2 separate regions of the Homo sapiens genome follow, and region 2 is linked to region 1. The links are contacts of gene promoters, found by promoter capture Hi-C in blood cells and fetal thymus (Javierre and others, 2016). All regions are on one chromosome and are shown on one strand. The core of a region is centred on a gene start or on the middle of the fragment in contact, and the rest is flanking DNA. Distances in the headings are between cores, read along the strand shown.

Region 1 (3,422 bases), core at 666-3,165:
TGGAACTATTTTCTTTTCTTTCTCTTTCTTTTTATATTTTATTTTATTTCAATAGTTTTTGGGGAGCAGATGGCTTTTGGTTACAAGGATAAGGTCTTTAGCAGTGACTTCTGAGATTTTGGTGCACCCTTCACTGGAGCAGTGTACACTGTACCCAATGTATGGTTTTTTATCCCTCATCCCCTGCATCCTTTCCCCTAAGTCCCCAAAATCCATTGTATCATTCTTGTGCCTTTGTATCTTCATAGCGCAGCTCCCACTTATAAGTGAGGATGTACAATATTTGGTTCTCCATTCCTGAGTTATTTCACTTAGAATAATGATCTCCAACTCCATCCAGGTTGCTGTGAATGCCATTATTTTGTTCCTTTTTGTGGCTGAATAGTATTCCATGGTGTATATGTACACCGCATTGTCTTTATCCACTCATTGCTTGATGGGCATTTAGGCTGGTTCCCTATGTTTTCAATCGCAAATTGTGCTGCTATAAACATGCGTGTACAAGTGTCTTTTTTGGAACTAGTTTTTTTGCCCAGGCTAGAGAGCAGTGGTGCAATCTGGGCTCACTGCAATCTCCACCTCCCAGGTTCAGGCGATTCTCCTGCCTCAGCCTCCTGAGTAGCTGGGATTACAGGCGTGTGCCACCACCTGGCTAATTTTTGTATTTTTAGTAGAGATGGGGTTTCTCCATGTTGGCCAGGCTGGTTTCGAACTCCTGACCTCAGGTGGTCTGTCCGCCTTGGCCTCCCAAAGTGCTGGATTACAGGCATGAGCCACCAGAGCTATTTTATATACTATTTACTCCTACATACTCTGAGGTCTCAGTTAGCTACACTTTATCTTGTTCTCAACTATGATTGGATAACCAAGAATCAGCAGACACTTGAGGAAGGCTCATAATATAGAAGAAGCAGACAACAAAACAAAGATGTGACCACTGAGTGGAGGGATATAGTTCAAGGAACAGAAGAGAGTTTGAAAACATCAGTAATCAAAGAACCAAAAAAACTTTTCGAAATAAAAATACAGTCTCTAAAATCAATATTTGATCCAAGGATTGGAAGGGAAAGTACAAGCATGAAATAAACAATATAAAAAGCTCCCCAAATGTAGAACAAAGCCCACAGATATGGAAAATATAAAACAGGAGAGAAAAAATGAATCGATTCAGGAGGGAAAGGGAGAGAAAGAGGGAAGGGACCATCTAAAGAAAGTGGGGAGAGACCGGGAAAGAAGTCAGTTCGGGCGTCAGCAGAACAAGTAGATTACAACAGCAGCCAGGGGAAAGTGTGCAGGGATAGGGAGGATGAAATCAGGGCAAGAGGAGGCTAACGAGAAAAGGCAATTTCTCCATTCCTGACCTTCCCCACTGAGCCCAGCTTTGGCTTCAGAGTGATTTCAGAGTGGCTTCAGAGTGACTCATGATCCCAGTGGAAGTGTTCCTGGGGGAAGGGGCAGTGGGTCAGACAGCCCAGGGCAGGAAGAGGCAATGAGATGTCTTACAGTGGGGCTGCCTGGAAGAAGCCTGGGGCATGGGCTTTCTCCAGCAAGGCTGGGTGTGAGTCCTGTGCACTGTGGTCTTCCCAAAGTGCTCCTCTCCCTGCACTCCTCATGGCTGGCCTTGTCCGTCCTCTCCTCCAGGCAGTAGATCCCGCAGCTCCTCAATGCTTGGGTTCCTCCTGGCTCCTCCTGCTCCTTGGCTCCTACGTGCACTCCCGTGCAAACCTGACCAGTCCCGGACACATTTTCTTTTCCACATGCACAAAAGTTTGGGCACACCTTGCAACATACACTGTACCTTAGTCTTTTCAAAGAATGACACCTCTTTTCTCCTAATATGTAAAAAGAGAAGTAGCTACAGATGTAACAGGAAGTGAGCAAGAGACTTGAAGGAGATTCGAGTAGGTTTGCGGTGTTGACTTCCGAGCTTGGATTCAAGTCCCTGAAGGGCACCAGACACCTGTGATCACCAAGGAGAGGAGAGGAGACAGGACCATGTGGCTGTCCCCATCTCTGCTGCTTCTCATCCTCCCAGGTGAGTGTGGCTGGAGCTTTAAGGCACTGGAATGACAGCGGCTGGCTTGGAGACAGAGACGCTCTGTTCTCAGGAAGGAGACATGTCAGGGAAAATGACAGCGCCAATTCATCCATCCATGCCCATATTCATTAAATAGCAATCAAGTTTTTGTTATCTGACAGGTTCTGTGTTAGATGCTGCAGAAACAAACACACACAAAACAAAACAAGTATAGCTTCTTGTTGGAACAGTGGTTCTCAACCCTGACTGTTCCATATAAACAGATGAATGAACAGATATCAATGAAGGAAGGAACTAATGAGTGAGTCCATTCTTGAAGAACTTTTTTTTTTTTTTTTTTTTGAGCTGGTGTCTCGCTCTGTCACCCAGGCTGGAGTGCTTCTTTCACTTAGCATGATGTTTCAAGGTTACTTTGTGTTGTAGCACAAATCAAAGCTTCATTCTTTTTCATGGCTGCATAGTATTTCACAGTGGATATACCACATTTGGTTTCTCCAGTCATTTGTCAATGAACCTTAGGGTTGTTTCTACCTTTTAAAAATTGTTAGTAATAATGTTATGAACTTTCATAGCACAGTTTTGTATGGAGATATGTTTTCAGTTCTCTTGGGTATATATCTAGGGGTAAAATGGCTGAATCCTATGTTAATTCTATGTTTAACTTTTTGAGGAAGCATCAAACCTTTTTCCCAAGGATTTATATTTGAGTACAGCTTTGGCTGTCATGTCAACAAATTTTGATACGTAGTGTTTTCATTTCTGTTAAAATGTAACAAATCTATGTGCTTCTCATATTATCTATACTCAGATCAAGCTTTGTAAGAAAATTTTTCCTTCCAATCTCAAATTTATTTTCTTTTAAAATAGATTATTATTATTATTATTATTATTTTTATTTTTTTTTTTTTTGTAGAGATGAGGACTCACTTTCATGCCCAGGCTGGTCTCAAACTCCTGGGCTCAAGTGATCCTCCCACTTTGGCCTCCCAAAGTGCTGGGATTATAGGTGTGAGCCACCATGCCTGGCTTCAAATTTATATTCTGTAAACAATTTTCAGATATATTCTCCTTCCTTTCCTTCCTTCTGAGACAGGGTGTGCTCTGTCACCCAATCTGGAGTACAGTGCTGGGATCAGGGTTCACTGCAGCCTTGACCTCCCAGGCTCAAGCCATCCTCCCACCTCAGCCTCCTGAGTGAGTAGCTGGGACTACAGGCATGTGGTGCGACACCCAGCTAATATTTATTTATTTATTTAGTCTCGCTATGTTGCCAGGGCTGCTCTCAAGCTCCAGGGCTCACGCGATTCTCCTGCCTCAGCCTCCCAAAGTTGTTATATTACAAGTGTGAGCTACCACACCCAGCTCTTATTTCTTATAAATAACT
Region 2 (3,217 bases), core at 5-2,504, 110 kb after region 1:
ACCCCAGGAGCCCGGACCACGTGGGCAGCGGGTGACACACACGCTGCTGATGCCCTTGGTTAGGTCCACAGCCAGGCAACCCCAGAGCCCACTGCACTGGATGCTGTGGGGATCTGTGGGCTCCTCCCCCAGAATTAAAGGGGAGGAGCCCACGGTTGGGAGACACAAGACCACGTATAGTGACGGGCTTGCTGAGCCACAGCTGACCTAATGGAGTGCGCAGCCGGGTACTCTGGGGTGCGAAGTGCCCTGCTTCCAAGTGCTGTGCGCAGGCACCACACTGCCCTCCCTGTCCCCACCTGGGACAAGTGTTCTGATGGGAAGGAGAAAAAGAGCTGGTGGGGAAGAGACAGGAGTTCAACGCCCGGGAAGGAGGGTGGTAGTGAGAAGGTTTGGGGGAGCCAGCGGTAGGGGAAGCTCACTGAAGGTAAGACCCAGTCTACCCCAGTCACAATGTTGTCCCCAGGGCCCAGCACAGGCCTGGCACACAGTAGGTGCTCAGGACAGCTTTGTTGTACGAATGAATGAACGACAAATGTGGGCTGGGGGAAAGAGTGGGGAGTAGGTGTGATGAGGCAGGTGTCAGGCTCCAGGCAGGGCAAGGGGAAGTCAGCCCCAGCCACACAGTCAGGGGATGGGGCACGGACTTGCAAAGCAGGGGACAGAGAGTCAAAAATGTTTGAATAGAAAGCCTTTATCTTGTTACTGAGGATGGGTTACAGGAAGCTTAAGACACCAGTAAACTCTGCGTCTGTGATTTTTAGAACATTTACTAGCTGGGAACATGGTACCATATGTTAAGTGCAAAAATGTAGGTTTAAAAGAGAATGAGTGGTATGAGGCCAATTTGTTAAGACATCGCAGATGCATGACTGGGTGTGGTGGCTCACATCTGTAATCCCAGCACTCTGGGCTTGAGCTCAGGAGTTCAAGACCAGGCTGGGCAACATAGTGAAACCCCATCTCTTAAAAAAAAAAATTTAACCATTAGCCAGACGTGGTGGTGAGCACCTGTAGTCCCAGCTATTTGGGAGGCTAAGGCAGGAGGATCACTGGAGCCCCGGGCAGTGGGGGGTCGAGGCTGGAGTGAGCCAAGATCATGCCACTGCACGCCAGCCTGGGTGACAGAGTGAGACTCTGTCTCAAAAAAGAGAAAAAAAAAGAAATCATAGATGCATTTACATAGGCATAGAAAAAAAGACTGGAAGGATATACCTCAGGGGCCAGTGGCTGGTTTTCTCTAGGTGGTGGGGTTTTTAGTTATCATCGATGATGGGGGATTTATTTCCTTCTTTGTGCTTTTGCTCATTTTTCAAACTTCCTACAATAATCACATACATCCTTTTCAAGGGGGGAGGAGGCTCTTTGAGGAGCCAGAGACTTTCTGGGTGAAAGGGCACAAAGGAAACCGAAAGGGGCTCAGAACTGAGACAACCCAGTGGCATCCACGTGGGTGCTGAAGTTTAGGATGGGATTACCAGAAAATGACACACACAAAGCAGATGGGAAAGAGGAAGTGGTTTTCTTCCCATACACCCTGCACAGATCTACTGAGGCTGATTTCTCCGCCAAAAGCCTGGGCGCCACAGGAGGCACTGGGGATATGTGTGAGCAGTGCCCCCCACCAAGCATGCAGCAGCTTATCCTGCAGCTATGGGACAGGATAACCCCATCTCTTCCCACCCCAGTCTCACTGCAGTCTTGGAAGGCTTTGGACAAAGATTCCCCTGAGAATCTTCTGCCTGTGGAATCTTCAACTCTCCGAACAGGGAGGAAGCTTCAGGCTTACACTTGACCTCGGCCAGGGATCTGCAATCTAGAGGACTGGTGGCCACACCTCCACTTGTTCCTCTGTTCCTGTGCTTATTCAATTTGCCTATCAGCTATTTATTGAGCATCTACTTACTGAGTGCCAAGAGTTCCTGTTCTCTCTTTTAATCTGAGCTCAGAGGAGGGCAGCTGGACTAGAGATTGCCTGGAGGCCCCTGGGGTGCCCGTTGCAGCTGGAGATACTGAATAACACATTAATTTGACAAATATTGGTTCTGTACCTCCTTGAAGCACATGCCTGTGGGAAGGCAGATGAGGACACCAGCAATGACAGTCTGGTTCCCAAAAGGCTGTGACAGCAGAGGTATAGCCAGGAGGGGCCCCAAGCCACTCTTTGGAGTCAAAGAAAAGGTCCCAGAGAAAAGAAAGTCTGAGGACCACTGTTGGAGTCCACTGGGAGTGAGCTGGGGAGAGGGGGCAGGGGAGGCCCTCCAGCCCAGAGCAAACCCAGAAGGAGAGGAGAGGCTGAGGTTGAGGCTGTCATTAAAGGAGATACAAGAAGTTGGTTTCCAGGGTGCGCGGATGGGGAGAGGGAGGTGGGTAGAGCCAGATCGTGGAGGGCAGTGACTCCTGTAGATACCTGGACTTTTTATGGTGGGGGAGACCATGCAAGGGTTTATTTTATCTTATAGACACGGGAGCCTTGTTGTGTTGCGCAGGCTGGTCTTGAATTCCTGGGATCAAGCAATCCTCCCATCTCAGCCTCCTGAGTAGCTGGAACTACAGATGCACACCACTGCACCCAGCACACCATGCCAGGGTTTTAAACAGAAGAGGGTCATTGCTTCATGGGGCAACCACCCTTGGCCTGGAAGTGGGAAAGCCTCCTGCTTGGGAGCCACCTCTCACAGCCTGTAACCACCACGCACAAGGATGCCTCCCATGGGACCTGCCCTGTAGGATCACCTAGGATGTGTGGTCTGGGTGTCACATGTCATAGCAATACTGTGGGACGTGGACATAGCTTTGAAGATGAGCGTCTGTGGTCAGGGTCTGACCACCCCAGGTGGGGCAGAGGGGTGTGGGGAGCCAACTCACCTTTGATCCATTTCTGAAACATCCTCCAGGCTAGCAGGGAGGCCCCCACCAACAGAAGCAGCAACAATGCCAGCAGGGAGAGGAGCAGCGGGAGCCTGGAGGAGGCACAGGATGGTAAGGGCGGGGCCAACTTGCCTTCTCCAACTTACTTTTTTATTTTTATTTTTTATTTTTATTTTTTGAGACAGGATCTGGCTCTGTTACCCAGGCTGGAGTGCAGTGGTGATCATGGCTCACTGCAGCCTTGAACCCCTGGGCTCAAGTGATCCTCCTGCCTCAGCCTCCAGCTACAGGCACAGGCCACCACGGCTAATTTTTAAATTTTTCGTAGAGACTCAATCTTGCTATA

The links. The method cuts DNA at HindIII sites, captures the fragments that hold promoters and counts their contacts. A CHiCAGO score of 5 or more calls a contact.
Region 2: a contact is called between a fragment that was not itself captured here and the fragment with the promoter of CD300LD in region 1, in 1 of 17 cell types (monocytes). The highest score is 6.0, in monocytes.

What each region holds. Positions count from the first base shown.
Region 1 is chr17:74,590,776-74,594,197 of GRCh38, reverse strand. It overlaps CD300LD (CD300 molecule like family member d), which reads left to right and starts at 1,915. Exons shown (of 4, transcript NM_001115152.2): 1 at 1,915-2,035. The coding sequence starts at 1,996. CD300LD-AS1 (CD300LD antisense RNA 1) reads right to left here. Exons shown (of 3, transcript NR_171003.1): 3 at 1-2,214. RefSeq lists an enhancer at 1,882-2,011. The HindIII fragment of the contact is 5,067 bases long and covers 1-2,475 here.
Region 2 is chr17:74,477,182-74,480,398 of GRCh38, reverse strand. CD300A (CD300a molecule) reads right to left here. Exons shown (of 7, transcript NM_007261.4): 4 at 2,869-2,963. Among named protein-coding and RNA genes, the nearest start is that of CD300A, 12 kb to the right of the region's middle. RefSeq lists enhancers at 1,324-1,373, 1,384-1,463. The HindIII fragment of the contact is 1,051 bases long and covers 729-1,779 here.